Linked DNA regions of Homo sapiens: all the other regions are linked to region 1. Evidence: promoter capture Hi-C in human tissues and cell types (Jung and others, 2019). All regions are on one chromosome and are shown on one strand. Each heading gives the region's core, a stretch centred on a gene start or on the middle of the fragment in contact. The rest is flanking DNA. Distances are from core to core; before and after follow the strand shown.

Region 1 (3,492 bases), core at 513-3,012:
AGAGAGATACTGAGCAGGTAGAAGGGGTACTATGATATTTTGGATGTACCTGTTTTTTAAAATGATTGTCTACTCCAATACACAGTGAATCCCTATGCATTATAGGATGAGTGTGCTGGATTCCATGACTTCCTTGAAGCCCATGAATTCTCTGAGACTGTCTCCATCATCATTGGGATTGTTTGGCTCATGAGCATGAATTATAGAGACTTAACAGAGGTAGTTCAACCAAGGACAGAGAAAGGTCTGAAATGCCTGTTGGGTGAGGAGTGGCACTGAGATTAGTAAAAAATCACTGCCTTGACCACTTCAAAACATTATAAATAAATGTTTAAATATTTCCTTAATATAATTTACTAACAGATAATTCGAACGAATGTCAAGGAATAACACACTATCATTCAGCTACCATATATATATAGCTATATATTTCAGTTTGTGAAATAAACTAGTATTTAGAACAAGCAATTGAAAGCCGCAAATAAAGATGATGAAACAAGTTGGTAAATACTTTTTCTAAGCAAACTGGTTGTAGATTTAGCATTGTTTAAATTACTGTCAATTTTTTCTTATGAGGAGTGATTTCATCATTTGTTTAAAACCTGGCTTTTGACACAGTTTTTCTGAAGTCTTTAGAAATTTGAAAAATTATCTCGCATGACTCTGTATTTCATGAAATACCAATATTTTAACATTTCCCTGTAAACAATAAAACGTACTAATATGGATTATGAATGTGAACAAATTGTGAATGGACTTTTTAAGAAAGTAGATTAATTAAATATCTGTAACCAGAAAATACATTTTTAAAATGTAGGTTTGTGTAGTTTTACTTCTATACCTTGCCACATAACATTTTGTGATAGACAAATGCTCTTTGTTTAGAATTTCTCTTGTAGAGAAAGCTTCATTCAGTTGTTTCTTTCCCTTTATTTATATGCCTGTGTGCATGATGTCTAAATCACTGGTCAGGAGTTCCCTGGGGATTTTCGTATCTGACTACATGGCAAGATTCCAGACCCAAAGTAAACCTTTCAGAGAGTGGGAATGAGTGGGAGGATGTCGCCCTGGGCATGGTGCTTAGGAGGCCAGATTTCCCTAAACCTGCTCTGCTGGGAGCCCTAGGAAGCCTCAGATGCAGTCTGCTGTCCAGGTATACTCACAGGGTATGGGGTGGGGGACTGTCAATTTCTGAATAGACTTTGTCTCATCCACACGACAACATATTTTAATTTTAAAGGCGAACGTCAACCTATTTAGAAAACTATAAGTGTGACTGATGCATTCATTATTTAATAACTCCGGGGTGAAACTTGAGGTGAACGGTTTCACCCTTTCATACTCAGGAATGGAACTAGTCCTCGGTACCGTGCACAGTCTGACCTCACGCTCGCACGCTGGGCTCCCGGCCTCCTGGCAGTGCACTTAAGTGTACCCCGCGTGTGCCCGGCGGACTCCCGTGCACACCGCCGCCGTGCTGTTGAGTACGAAAGACCCCCGAGAGGAGCTCGCAGATGAGAGCCTAGCTGTTGCTGTGAGACTGACTGCGGGTGGCAGCCGGCAAGAAGGAACTGCCAGTACCGACCCTGGCGCTCCCCACCAACTGCGGCGCAGCCTCCTCTGCGGTGCCCGCCCTTCGGCATCACTGCAGTCCCTGTAGCAAAGCTAACTTTAAAAATTTAAATAAAATAATAATTTTTTAAAGGCCCGAAAACTCCGGCTCCCACCCCTCCCCCAGCCTGCCCGGCGGCGGCGGCGCTCAGTGAGTGACACGGCGAGCGTGAGCCGCGGCCCCAGCCGGGCCGAGCGCGCTGCCTGAGCTGAGCCGCCGTAGGTGAGGGGCCCGCGTCCCCGCCCGCCCTGGGCGCCGCGCCTGGCACTGATCCTGCCGGTCGCCCACTGTCGCCGCCGCCGCCGCCCGCGGGCACCATGACAGCTCTGAGCGCTGGGGTTACAGGTTGGTCACCGCCGCCGGTGCCCGGGAGGCTGCGGCGCGGCCGGCTCCGTGCCCTGCGCCCGAGGCCCGCGATGCGCGCTCGTTAGTTCCTTGGCCGGTCCGGGCCAGGACGGCTCAGGGGCGCTGGGGCTGCGAGAGGGGCTGCTAGAGGGGCTGCGGGCGGGGGCCCCGCGCGGGGGAGGGGTGGGGAGGGGCGCCTCCACCCGAGAGCGGGGCGGTGGGGTCCTTGCCGGCCTGGCCGGGGCGCGGGAGCCGCGATGCGCCCTCCCTATTCCTGCGCGTGGGTGTCGGGGGCGCCTGCCGCGGGATGCCCCTGGGCTGGCTTGGGAAGCCCAGGGCCGGCGACACCTCGGGCCTGCCCCGCCTGGGCATCTAGCAGGTGTTGGGGGGCAGGTGGCTGAGGACGAGGCCACTGGGCATCACTACAGCGCTGCACCTGCCCCCTCGGCACCAGGGCCGCTGCCTGGGTAAACCTCTGGGCCAACGCGCGGGTGGGGAGGTGGGGGTGGGCAGCCTGGCTCCAGCAGGTCTCCGCGGGGGCTCCGCGGCCTTGCCCCACCCCCATGCTCCTGTGGATTGCTCCTTGCTAAATGTCCCTTATGATATTCATTGGCCTTGTTAAGCAGCCGTCATTAGGGTGGCTACACCGAACGCAAAACAGTGTCCTGCCAAGCAACACCATTTTGTCACTGAATCTTTAAGACACCAGCAAGGATGGCCTGGCTGGGATCCCTCTGGGGGCCCAGATCGCAGTCATTTTGCTGACTTAATGTTCCTCTTTCAGGATGGTGTGAGAATGCTGAACTCAGACCCTTAGTGCTTGAAATACCTTAGAATAAATCTTTCAGTTTCAGGTACAATTTTTCAGACACTGTATTATTAAGGATGTGTGAATACACGCTCACTTTCAGGCCTCAGAAGGTTTTACTCTTAATCTGGTGTTCGTGTGGTCATCAGCTAGGCCCGACTGCCCTGGTGGTGAAATGTGGGTTGAGGACCAGTGACCTTCGTGTTAGTAGTTGGTGGATAACACCTCTAATAGGGGATCAAAAATTAACAGGTGGCGATTTTGAAATATATATGTATGTATATATATATATATATGTGTGTGATTTGTATGTTCATAACTACAACTGTGATTTGATATGGCCTGGGAGAGGAGCGGTTTCACTATGGTAGTTACCCCTGAGGCAGATGCATCTCAGGACTGGCTTTTTAAATTCAAAGATAAGGTTTCCACAGTTCTAAATAAAAATCATGGCTTCCCAAACATCTGCAACGAGAAACATTTACTCCCTAACTGGTTGGCTGTCATTCTGCGTGCTTTTCTAGAGTCGATTTTTCGTTCTTCTGTAGTATACTTTGACCTAGCCACTGCTAAAACCAGACAGTGTGAAGACAAAATCCAGCTTTGGAGAAAAACTTAAAAAGTGAAAAGGTTCAGTTGGATCCTCTTCTGTGTTCATAGAAGACATAATCTGTTTGCAGAATAAATGTGCCGTCACTGATAAGGACTATGCTAAAATCTCTACAGA
Region 2 (3,492 bases), core at 504-3,003, 110 kb after region 1:
AATTTTTTTAAAATTGTTTTCTTTGACACAGTAAAGGATCAATGAGACTTGCTTAATTCTTGTCAAGAATACAAAGTCAACAATGGCTGAGATGAAAATATTTTCCATAAAGTAAAATGATCAAATTTGCAAAAGCTTGGTTACATGATGTGAATTTCACTCAAACCACAAGGCATTACACTAGAGTCTTGCTGAAATTTAAGACAGACTGTCTTAGGAATTATTTGCCAATAGACAAAATGAATATGGGGTGGTTGATGTGCTGAAGTGGCCAATGAGCATGCTTTGATTGACAGATGAGGAAATGTATCCCTACATTTTATCAAACTATGTGGTGTCTGATTTATATCACTGAGGTGGCCATTCATTATGGTCATGAACTGTGAGGTCAAAGCACTTGCAAAAACTTGCCAAAATACTTCCTATTCCAGTACTAAATATTTCTCATATTTGTTTGCCTAGAATAACAAGATGCAGGCTTGGTAGTCCTTTCAAGAATGTGAATTTCTTTGGTATGTCTGAGTTTAGTAATGTTGAATTGTGTGTGTGTGTGTATTATTCTTAAGACTTTGCCTGTATTTTAACATTTTATTTGGTAAAAATAGCATTATTTTGGCAAGATTTTTAAAGCCTTGAAATGGGACAAATTAAAGTATAATGCTTTTTCTTGAGAAATAATTTATTGCTCCATGTTGTTGAATCATACCATTAGTCATGAAACCAAAACCCTATATTTAAAAAGTAACAATCTCATATTCAAAGTATCTCCTTTGAACATTTCAAAGAATCTTAAGCAAATCTTTATGTGACATTAAATTGTACATTTTACCTTGTTATTTTAGATCTATGGGTGGAGTTCATTCTTCGGGCTAAGTGTAGGTATGAAGTGTGAATTTCTGTGTCTTGGTATGCCAGTAACTTAGGGCAAGGTTAGTAGAGTGGCTTTTGTGAGAAAAAAAGAGCTGTTTTATCAGACATCAGTTGGAACTTTGCCTTGTTTTGTTTCCCTGAACCGTCCAATCTGCTTCATATACTTGTGTGAAATCCTAAAATGTCTGTATGTCAATAATTTTTAGTTAGCATATTTTTTCCAAACAGACATCCTTGTGAACATCAGCCGTTTCTGAGAACTGGGCCCACGGACCATAGCTACTTTGAGTCTCAGTCTATGTAATAGTTGGGGTAAAGTAAGCTTTAAAGAGAGAACTCACAACACAATGGCTCAAGCAAGACACAAGTTGATTTCTTTCTGAAGCTGCCATCCTGGGTATGTGGGTATTTGGATGAGCTGGGCCCCATGAAGTCATCCCAAAGTGCAGGCCTCTGTGGCATCTCTGCCAAACTCAACACTTACTCTCCAAGTCTGTCCTTGGCTTCTCTATTTCTAGCTGGTGGAAGGGAAGGGAAAAATGAGTCCAGGGAAGGAGTTTTTGTAGATGGCTTGGGAGTTGCATACATCAGGAAGAACTTTGTCACAAGGCCACAACTCCTTGCAGGAAATTCTAGGAAACATATTCCCTCACTGAGCAGCCATGCGCCCAGGAAGAAGAGAAGAATGAGTCTAGAGTCGCAAGCAGCAATATCTACTACAGGCTTAAATAACCAAAGGACAAAATGCCCAGTCCATTATAAATATATTCCAAAAATGAAGCCATGAAATTTGACTTCATTTATTGAAGTCAAAACAAATTTATTGTTATAAACTAATTTCTCTATTTTATATTTCTCAAATGATTACATTTTTAACACAGAACAAAGCCATAGTTAGAATTTCAGTAATCGTATGGAATATCCAAAAGGTACACCCAATACACCCAAAAGCTAAACCAGAGTCACTGCTAAATTTTATATTGTTCTGATTTACCTAACAGATTAGTGAAAATAATTAAAATCTTGCTGCTTTTTAAATTTTAAATATCGGATTTTGGTTAGAACTCTAAGAATATTTAAAACTATCTTTACCTACTCTTGTTGGACAATCATTTGAGGAGCTAAGAGTGCAGAGAAGGCAGAGAAATGTTCTCCTCAACCCAAGCAAAAGCACAGAAGAACTATTGCTAATCCAAAATGCAGGAAGGAAATTTCACCCCTCCTCCCTTCCCTTTTCTTGGGCTAGTCTGTTTAACTTTAAAAGCAGAATTTTTGCTCTCACAAAGTATACCAGACAGGAATTTGTTCAAATTCCTCAAAACCAAGCCAAGAAAAGTTTCAGAAAGTTCAGACATGCATGGCAGAGTGGAAAGAACATAGTCTGTGGAGGCGAGCACGGATTCATTGGAATGCCGCTCCAGACATCCACTCTGGGTGAACTCAGGGATGTGTTTAGTCTCATTAAGCCACAGTCTTTTCATTTTTAATGTAAGAGTGATAAGAACGACTTGCCAGTGTGTTGGTGGAGAACTGAAATAGAGAAAGGCCTGGTGTGTAACAGGATGTTTCTCTCCATCTGTGTAATCTGTGACAGTCCTAGGAAGTTCAAAGTTATGACTGTTCTGGGTTTGTGGCCAACAGTTGTCTGTGGCTTCCATGGGTTGGAGCTGTCTAATGGGGCCCAGACCACCATCGCTCTGCTCAGAAGCTAATCATACCAAAACATGAGGTTTTTCTCCAAGCGACAAAGAGGGGCTAAGCACCCAAGGATCTCCATAATAGTAGCAGGAAAATGAAGCTGAGACCTTACCCTGACTTAGAAGTTCATAACAATAATGGCCCCAAACAAGATGCTCATGTCTATTGGTTGTGGTTAATAATCATGCAACAACATGAACTTCAAACCCAGCCTATGCTTGGCTCTTCCAGGGACTGAAGGCATCTCAGAGCCCCACCCCTTACCTCAGAAACCGCAGGAAGGAGCCTGGGTTCTCAGAGTCCAAGAAAATGCACCTGATAATAGCACCTGAACTTCCTCCACACAAAGAAAGCCTGATAGGGACAGGGGATTAAGCTTGCATGGAGGGCAGGATCCAACCCACAGTAGCACTTCCTTGCCATGCGACCTTAGCAAATGGCTTAACTCGCTTTCTGTATCAGTAAAATGGTGTTTGTAGTACTAAGGTGTCAGTGAGGATTAAATGAGCCAAGCCTGACCCACAGCAATTCATGACAAGTCTCAGCCACTTTAATGAATGTGATGATATTCTAACGTTTGGGATGCTGAGGTGGAGGACGATGGTGTCCCACCTCCTGCAAATGCCATGTGAACACTGAAGCTACACAAGCAATGGCTCTAAAGTCAAAGCCAGCATCAGGACTGGTATAAAAGAATCACCAGGACAAGGGCAGGGCAGAGGGGAGGCCAAAGCAGCTTTGTCAGTGCCTGCACGGCTGGACCTAGAGGAATTTCTCGACATAGAGGGTAAAACAACCCATTGGCCCACATTTCTGAGGACCGACGTGGGAGAAGGGTCACATGAGGCCATGAAATGGGCATCTGCAGAGGAAATGGAAGCCAGTGTCTGGAGACAAGTGGAGCCATTGAGCTAGCAATGCGTG
Region 3 (3,492 bases), core at 600-3,099, 76 kb after region 1:
TCTTGATCCATTTTGGTTGTTGTAACAAAATGTCACAGAATCAGTGTCTCATAACCAAGAGAAATTTATTTCTCACAGTTCTAGAGTCTGGGAAGTCCAAGAGCAAGACAGCAGCAGATTTCATGCCTGGTGAAGGCTCACTTCCTGGTTCATAGAATGGCACCTTTTCACTGTGTCCTCACGTAGTAGAAGCAGTAAGGGTTCTCTCTTGAACCTCCTTCATAAGGTTACTAATACCATTAATGTGGGCTCCACCTTCATGATCTAATCACACCCAAAGGTCCTACCTTCTGGTAGCATCACCCCCATGGGGGTTAGAAATTCAACAAATGAATTTGGGGGAAACATCAGCATTCTGTCCATTGCACTATCCTAGAACATTACCCTGTTCCTCCCCAAAGTGAAACAGTGACAGACATCTGGTCTAACAAAAATTTATTTCAAAGATGAGTCATAATTGAAAGAATGAGGACCACATCTATAAAAATGTACTTTGAGGTACTTTTAAAACTGAAAAAAAATCATGATATATAACTCATAAAAGCTTAGTAGGAAACAGAGCACTGAATTACAGATTCGAAGGATGCAGCTTTTCTCAGTAAGTGAACATAGAACAGTCAACACTGAGACACATCTTAGTAAAATTGTTGGAAATCAAAGCTAAAGAAAACATTCATTAGGCATCCAGAAAAAATAAGGTCAAGTTAGCTATAAGGAGGTACATCAGAGAGGCCTGAAACTTCATGTCAATATGGAACTCTAGAATGTAATGGCACAATGCTTACAAATTCTTTAGGGAAAGAATGGGTCAAGCTCTTTCTGAATATTTTTGAAGAGGCAGGAACATAGAGACTATATTTTGCATGAAATCTTCTTGAAAACATTCAGTCAATCAAGAATTTCTTATCATGAGCTAGTCTCTAGTATCTATTTGTTTTAAGAACAAAGCTAATGTAACTGTAGGATTTACAAAATACAATGTAAATATTATAAATTATGAATATCTAGAAGAGATAAGATGAAAACCGGGGGAGATAGTGTGATTATGTTGATATTCTTAACATTCACATTTTAGCAGTTAAAAAAGTAACATTTATACAATATATGAAATGTATAATAGAGATATGTGCATACTTGTCATGAGATGAGAATGCATGATAAACTCAGAAATTACTTTCTTTAGAAATAACTCAAAAATCCAAATAATATTATCTATGACCACGTCCCAAAAAATCATTTCAATATGAGTAATAATATTGGAATCAATTCTTTCTAAATCTTGATAATAGTTCTCAAAAGAAAAGTAACAAACAGTATATTTTTTAACCTCTGAATAGAGTTATGCTATTTGCTGTAGCATGTTTAAAATTATTAGGGGCACATGACTCCTTTGTGGTAAAGTTTGCTTGAAGCACAGTTGTTCAAAAGAATGGCCCTGGGGTTTAGATCATGACTCCACTTTATATTAGTGTGACAGCCTTAGGAAAGTAATTAACTCTCTTGCCTCAATTTCCCCATCTAGGAAATGGGGTAAGTGATAGACCTACCTTATACAGTTAATGTAAAGAGCAACTGAGAAACTACACTTAGAGTACGTGTAGCGTAGAACAAACGCAGAATGAACTAGAAATTGGGATGCACGGGCAAAATATGAATGTATCTCTGTGTTATTTGAGGGAAAATGGTGTAATAATAAGGGAGGGCAGGACATAGATATTTTCACACTCACACACTGCATCTGATATGATTCCCTTTGTTTACAGACATTAACTATGCAGGTTTTCCAGTATCTTATTCAAGGGAGAGGCATTGGGGCAGGGGCACGGTGTTTTTTGTTTGTTTGTTTGTTTGAGATGGAGTCTCGGTCTGTCGCCCAAGCTGGAGTGCAGTGGCACAATTTTGGCTCACTGCAAACTTTGCCTCCTGGGTTCAAGCAATTCTCCTGCCTCTGCCTCCCAGTTAGCTGGGACTACAGGCGCCCATCACCATGCCTGGCTAATTTTTTTGTATTTTTAGTAGAGACGGAGTTTCACCGTGTTAGCCAGGAGGGTCTCGATCTCCTGACCTCGTGATCCACCCGCCTCGGCCTCCAAAAGTGCTGGGATTACAGGCGTGAGCCACTGTACCCGCCGGGGCACGGTGTTCTTAACCTTGCATCTTGCCTATGTTAACTCATATCTCCCATTTCATTTTATTCCAATCAATGACTAGCATTCTAGAAGGCAAGTTTTTGGTGATGTTTGGTCTTTATTCATCAATTATTCCCCTCCCCTCTCACAAATGTCCTGACTTCTGTGCTTGTACCAATCTCTCTAGAATCTGATCAACATTTAGCCCGTGTCATTGAATTTTCTAGTTTGATGAAGCATCATGCATATGTTTAATTTTATTTATTTATCCATATACATTCGAATCTGTGACCCCTGGATTGGAGCCTCTCCCTTTCAGCGCCTTTCAACAGGTGCTCCTTCCACAGAGCCTAAGTAAAGCACCAGCTGGGGCATTGAGCAGAAGGCACAGCCATGCTGTGATGTGCAGGGGCTCCAGCACTAAGTGATTTATTTTCCGACCTCCTCTAATTCCCTGAGCCACGTGACAACTGAGATACTAGTTATTTCTGTCTCTTTCTTCCATTTATGCACCTTTCCATCTTTATTTCTGGATAGCTTTCCTGTGGCTCCTTCCTAAGGACCCCCAACTGACTCATCCCTGCTAAGACATTAGCCCGTGCACTCAAGATATCACACACTCCCCATGTTGCAAGCTTCCTGAGTAGTAGACATAATCTAAAGGACATCTTGCAAAATCGCAAAATTTATTTAGCAGACATTGAGATTCCGTGATTGCAGTATGGGTGGCAAGGTGGGTAGGAATCATACAGTGGTAAGGTTTGGGGATTGACAACATCCTAAAAGCCACACTGTCGAAGTGACACAAAATCACAGCAACTTACCCTATTTAGAAAATGTGTCTTCCCTTTTCTGAATACTTACCCCACTTTCAGTTCCTACTTCCGCTGTTCCCACTTGCTCATAAACATATGAGACATAAAAGCTGAGACATAAAAGAGGCGACACTGTGATTTTCTGTAATAACACTGGAAATGAAATTACAGAAGTTTAGAGCTGGAACAGATAATGCAGTCATACATTTTACCCACACAGGTGGGGATCTGAGAGTCAGAGTGAGTGGGATTAGAATTACAGAGAACTCCGGGCAGAGGCAGGCTGAACTCACTTCTCCAGATTTGCAGATGTCCACCATACTTGCTGTTTCCACCAAACCGTCTTACAACTCAAAATAGTGTTTAAGAAGAAAATTCAAAAACAATTTGCAAAGCTTAGTTTTATTCCTAATTTTCTAGTGGAATGTTAGCATTATTTCCCTTTAGTGAAATGCTGATGGGGAAGACCGTTATCCAAACAGAGGTGATGTGCCAGTTAGAAAGAAAGCAACACAAAATATACCATATATGCGAAATAAATCACAGCA
Region 4 (3,492 bases), core at 377-2,876, 71 kb before region 1:
CAACTATGTCAGCTGCTCTCTCCAAATCACATACCAAAGCATTTAAGGGGAACTAAATTATATTGAGCCCCTCCTATATGCCATGTATTAATAGACGAGGAAGGGTTCCATAAAAATTTAATGGGTGTGCTGAGGTGAAAACTGTCATTTCAAAGCTATAAACAGTTTATATCTCAAAAGAAGTAGAATTTGATCCCTACTTTGGAAAGATTTTTGTTTGATTTTTAACACCACCTGAATCAGACCTCCATCTACCATGTGTTTATCCATCTATCAATCCTTTATTTCACATTCTTAGAAGAGACTGGAATGCCAGGGCTATATGAAGTAAACTTCTATCTGTGTACAATTTCGGTAACCTTTCTTTTAATTGTTGGATCCGTAGATTGACATGATGAAAGCTGTCTTGTAACACATTTTAAAACAGAGTAGTAATCTAGCCACTCATTACAGTTTCTATACTTAAAAATATACTTTAGAGATAAATCAAATGTCTTCATTTGGAGGCATTAGCATTAAGAAATTTATCTTACAGAAAAGGCAAAATAACCACACCTCCTAGCTTCTTTAGTGTGGTGTTTTGGCTCCTACTGGTAAACAGCCATTAACATCTGCAGCTGGGCCACTTCAGCGGCTGCAGGCAAAATGGCTTCCTGAAAACACCAAAAGATGAAAAGGAACAGTCACAAATGAAAGAAAAGGAATATAACTCCCTTTTTTTTGAGAACTGGGAACCTAATATTGGCATGGCTTTAATCTTCTTTAATCTTTAATGAGTCTAATCTCATTATCACTCACACATAAACAAAAAATTCCATGAGGAAGACGCAAAATTATTGCTGTTGTCAGAACATAACACATATCTCCAAAGGTTGTAGTGGGGGGTTCACGAATAAGACATAGGGTACTTAGTACAATGCCTGAGCACACAGTACATGCTCAGTAAACTGCACTTTCTATTAACATGTTCTGTTCTTCCGCTTAGACAAGGAAACTGAGGTGGTTAACAGCTCTCTCAAGTTAAAGTTGACAGTCAGCTTAGGTCTTTCCGGGTTCAAAGCCTGTGACCAGGAAACTCTTCCAGTGTCAATTCCTGAAATCACTCCAGTTTTACTCCCCTCAAAGCAGTGAACGTGGGAAAGCTAAGCAGGCATATGCCTTAATCCACTTAAAGGTAAAGAAATGAACTTGGAAGTGCCATGCAGTCTTCTCTGCCATTATAGAGAGTCAGTTAAATGTATACATCAAGCTAAAAACTAGACTCCCTTTAAAGTGATAACAGAGGATGAACAGATTGCTCTGAAAAGGCTGTGCCTTTAATGTAAAAAGCAATTGCTCCTTTATCTTCAACCTCATTTGGAATTGTATACTCCCTCAAATGTCAATGCTAAGGCTGGCTCCTTGGTTAGAAAAGCATGGGCTGTGAAATCCAAACATCCTTCAAGAAAAACCAGTATCTGTTTACTGTAAGTCCCAATCCCTGCCATCCTCCATCCCTTCTCTCCCTTCTCATCATGAGGGAGGCCCATTTGATCTCCTCCTCCGAAGCCCAGCATTCTTACCATCACCACCTCCTCAGCCTCAACCTCCCTGCATGGCTGTTTGCAGTCAGGCCCCCTGTGCCAGTTTCACACTGAACACAAACCTAGTTAACAATTCCTGTCTTCGGAGCATCATTTGAGTTAGGAAGATTAACCCTTCTTTCTGACCTTAATGAACTGTAAGGAAATAAAACCTACAAGCTAAGACTGAACATACTTCAGTTGATGCAGAAGAGCTCTCTGCATCCAGTTTCTTAAAAAGCATAAGAATTCCTTACTTTAGGCCAGTGTGCTGCCAGTATATCTGAGCAGGAGATTCACCGAGGACACTGGTTAACCTGCACATCTACGGAATGCACTTCGGAAAAGGGGCTTAGGAAACTGTATTGCAGAAACACACCACAGGTAATGCTTATGATCACCCAAGCTTGGAATGCATGGCCTTAGGCCATCAGTGATAACTCTATATATTCCTGAGGTAATTGAACTAAACATCACATTGATTTATATTAAATATTTTGTCAAATATAATTGCCAATTTCAGCTAAATTTTCGCTACCAGGATTTCAAAAATTACAATCATATTTTTGAATCCTAACTTTCTTTTTTTAATGACATTGGTGTAAACCTCCAATATGGGTTTTACATTTAAACAAGAGGGTTGGTAATGTGGCAAGTTTGGTATTATTTTAGGTCACAGGATAAGGACAGGCTGTTATCAACAGGCTCCATATAATTTCCTGTGTTCCTCAAACATCTCCCAGCAACAGACCTGATATGATTTAAAATTAGCCTGAGCAATTTGACAGGATCATAACACCTGCCTTGGAGCTGTAACTACACATTTCTCTTGTGAAATTTAATATGCCTGGTAATAGGTGAAGCCTGAACATTTATACCTAACAAAGATATAGTAACAAATGATAAGATAGGCTATCAAAATCACTATGAGAACCTAGAAGCAATAAAACAAATCCAAGGTTTATGAAGAAGTATTATAAAATTTTGTTATTATTGACCTTATGAATGTATTTAAGTAGTTATTTACATTTTTTTTATAATTCTTCCCATTTGGCTGATGCAATCTAGAAAGCATTAAAAATAAGAGCTGACATTTAATACCTACGTAGGCATTTTTGGGTGTGTGAAATTAAACCAAATAAAATACAGACTACTGGATGTGTGCTTATGTTCCTTCTAGTGCTAAACAAACATGCATTGACTGAATAAATGAATAGTAATATAGCCACAGAGAATAGCAATTAGCATTAATGATTAAAATTACCATTATTTACAATACTAAACATGACATTTAAATAGCATCATGAAGTTTCAAAGCTGCAAGAGGTCTAGACTTTTAAAATATGAAACTTACATTGTGGATTTGCATTATTTATCATTTTTGCCCATTTCTCAAATAGTCTTTATTTCCCCAGTAACCTGCTCTCCTGTGTTTTTCCCCAGTATCTTTCATCACTTATTTTTTGATGGGGGTCTTATTTCCCCCATATTCTTTCCCTCTGATCTTTTCTAATTTTTATTTTTATTTCAATAGTTTTGGGAAACAGGTGAAGTTCTTTAGTGGTGATTTCTGAGATTTTGGTGCACTCATCACCTGAGCAGTGTACACTGTACCCAATGGGTAGTCTTTTATCCCTCACCCATCTCACACCCTTCCCTCTCCCAAGTCCCCAAAGTCCATTATATCATTCTTATGCCTTTGCATTCTCATAGCTTAGCTCCTACTTATAAGTGAGAACATATATTTGGTTTTTGATTCCTCAGTTACTTCACTTAGAATAATGGCCCCCAGCTCCATCCAAGTTGCTTCAGAAGACATTATTTCACTCCTTTTCAAGGCTGAGTAGTATTCCCTGGTGTATATATACCACATTTTTTTTTTATCCACTCGTTGGTTGATGGACACTTAGGTTGGTTCCACATCTTTGCA

What was found. Contacts are between HindIII fragments. The study calls those that stand out against the background at their distance.
Region 2: a contact is called between a fragment that was not itself captured here and the fragment with the promoter of NALCN in region 1, in 5 of the 25 tissues and cell types used here (IMR-90 fibroblasts, aorta, dorsolateral prefrontal cortex and 2 more).
Region 3: a fragment that was not itself captured here is called in contact with the fragment with the promoter of NALCN in region 1 in 7 of the 25 tissues and cell types used here (aorta, bladder, liver and 4 more).
Region 4: a fragment that was not itself captured here is called in contact with the fragment with the promoter of NALCN in region 1 in 2 of the 25 tissues and cell types used here (mesendoderm cells and thymus).

The regions. Positions count from the first base shown.
Region 1 is chr13:101,414,778-101,418,269 of GRCh38, reverse strand. NALCN (sodium leak channel, non-selective) reads left to right here and starts at 1,762. Exons shown (of 44, transcript NM_052867.4): 1 at 1,762-1,957. RefSeq lists enhancers at 1,860-2,410, 2,411-2,961. The HindIII fragment of the contact is 15,657 bases long and covers 1-3,492 here.
Region 2 is chr13:101,306,290-101,309,781 of GRCh38, reverse strand. The region is part of intron 7 of NALCN (sodium leak channel, non-selective); the gene reads left to right. Among named protein-coding and RNA genes, the nearest start is that of NALCN, 110 kb to the left of the region's middle. The HindIII fragment of the contact is 3,569 bases long and covers 1-3,492 here.
Region 3 is chr13:101,338,626-101,342,117 of GRCh38, reverse strand. All of the region lies in intron 7 of NALCN (sodium leak channel, non-selective), which reads left to right. Among named protein-coding and RNA genes, the nearest start is that of NALCN, 76 kb to the left of the region's middle. The HindIII fragment of the contact is 5,110 bases long and covers 1-3,492 here.
Region 4 is chr13:101,486,068-101,489,559 of GRCh38, reverse strand. The region is part of intron 2 of ITGBL1 (integrin subunit beta like 1); the gene reads right to left. Among named protein-coding and RNA genes, the nearest start is that of ITGBL1, 35 kb to the right of the region's middle. The HindIII fragment of the contact is 4,379 bases long and covers 1-3,492 here.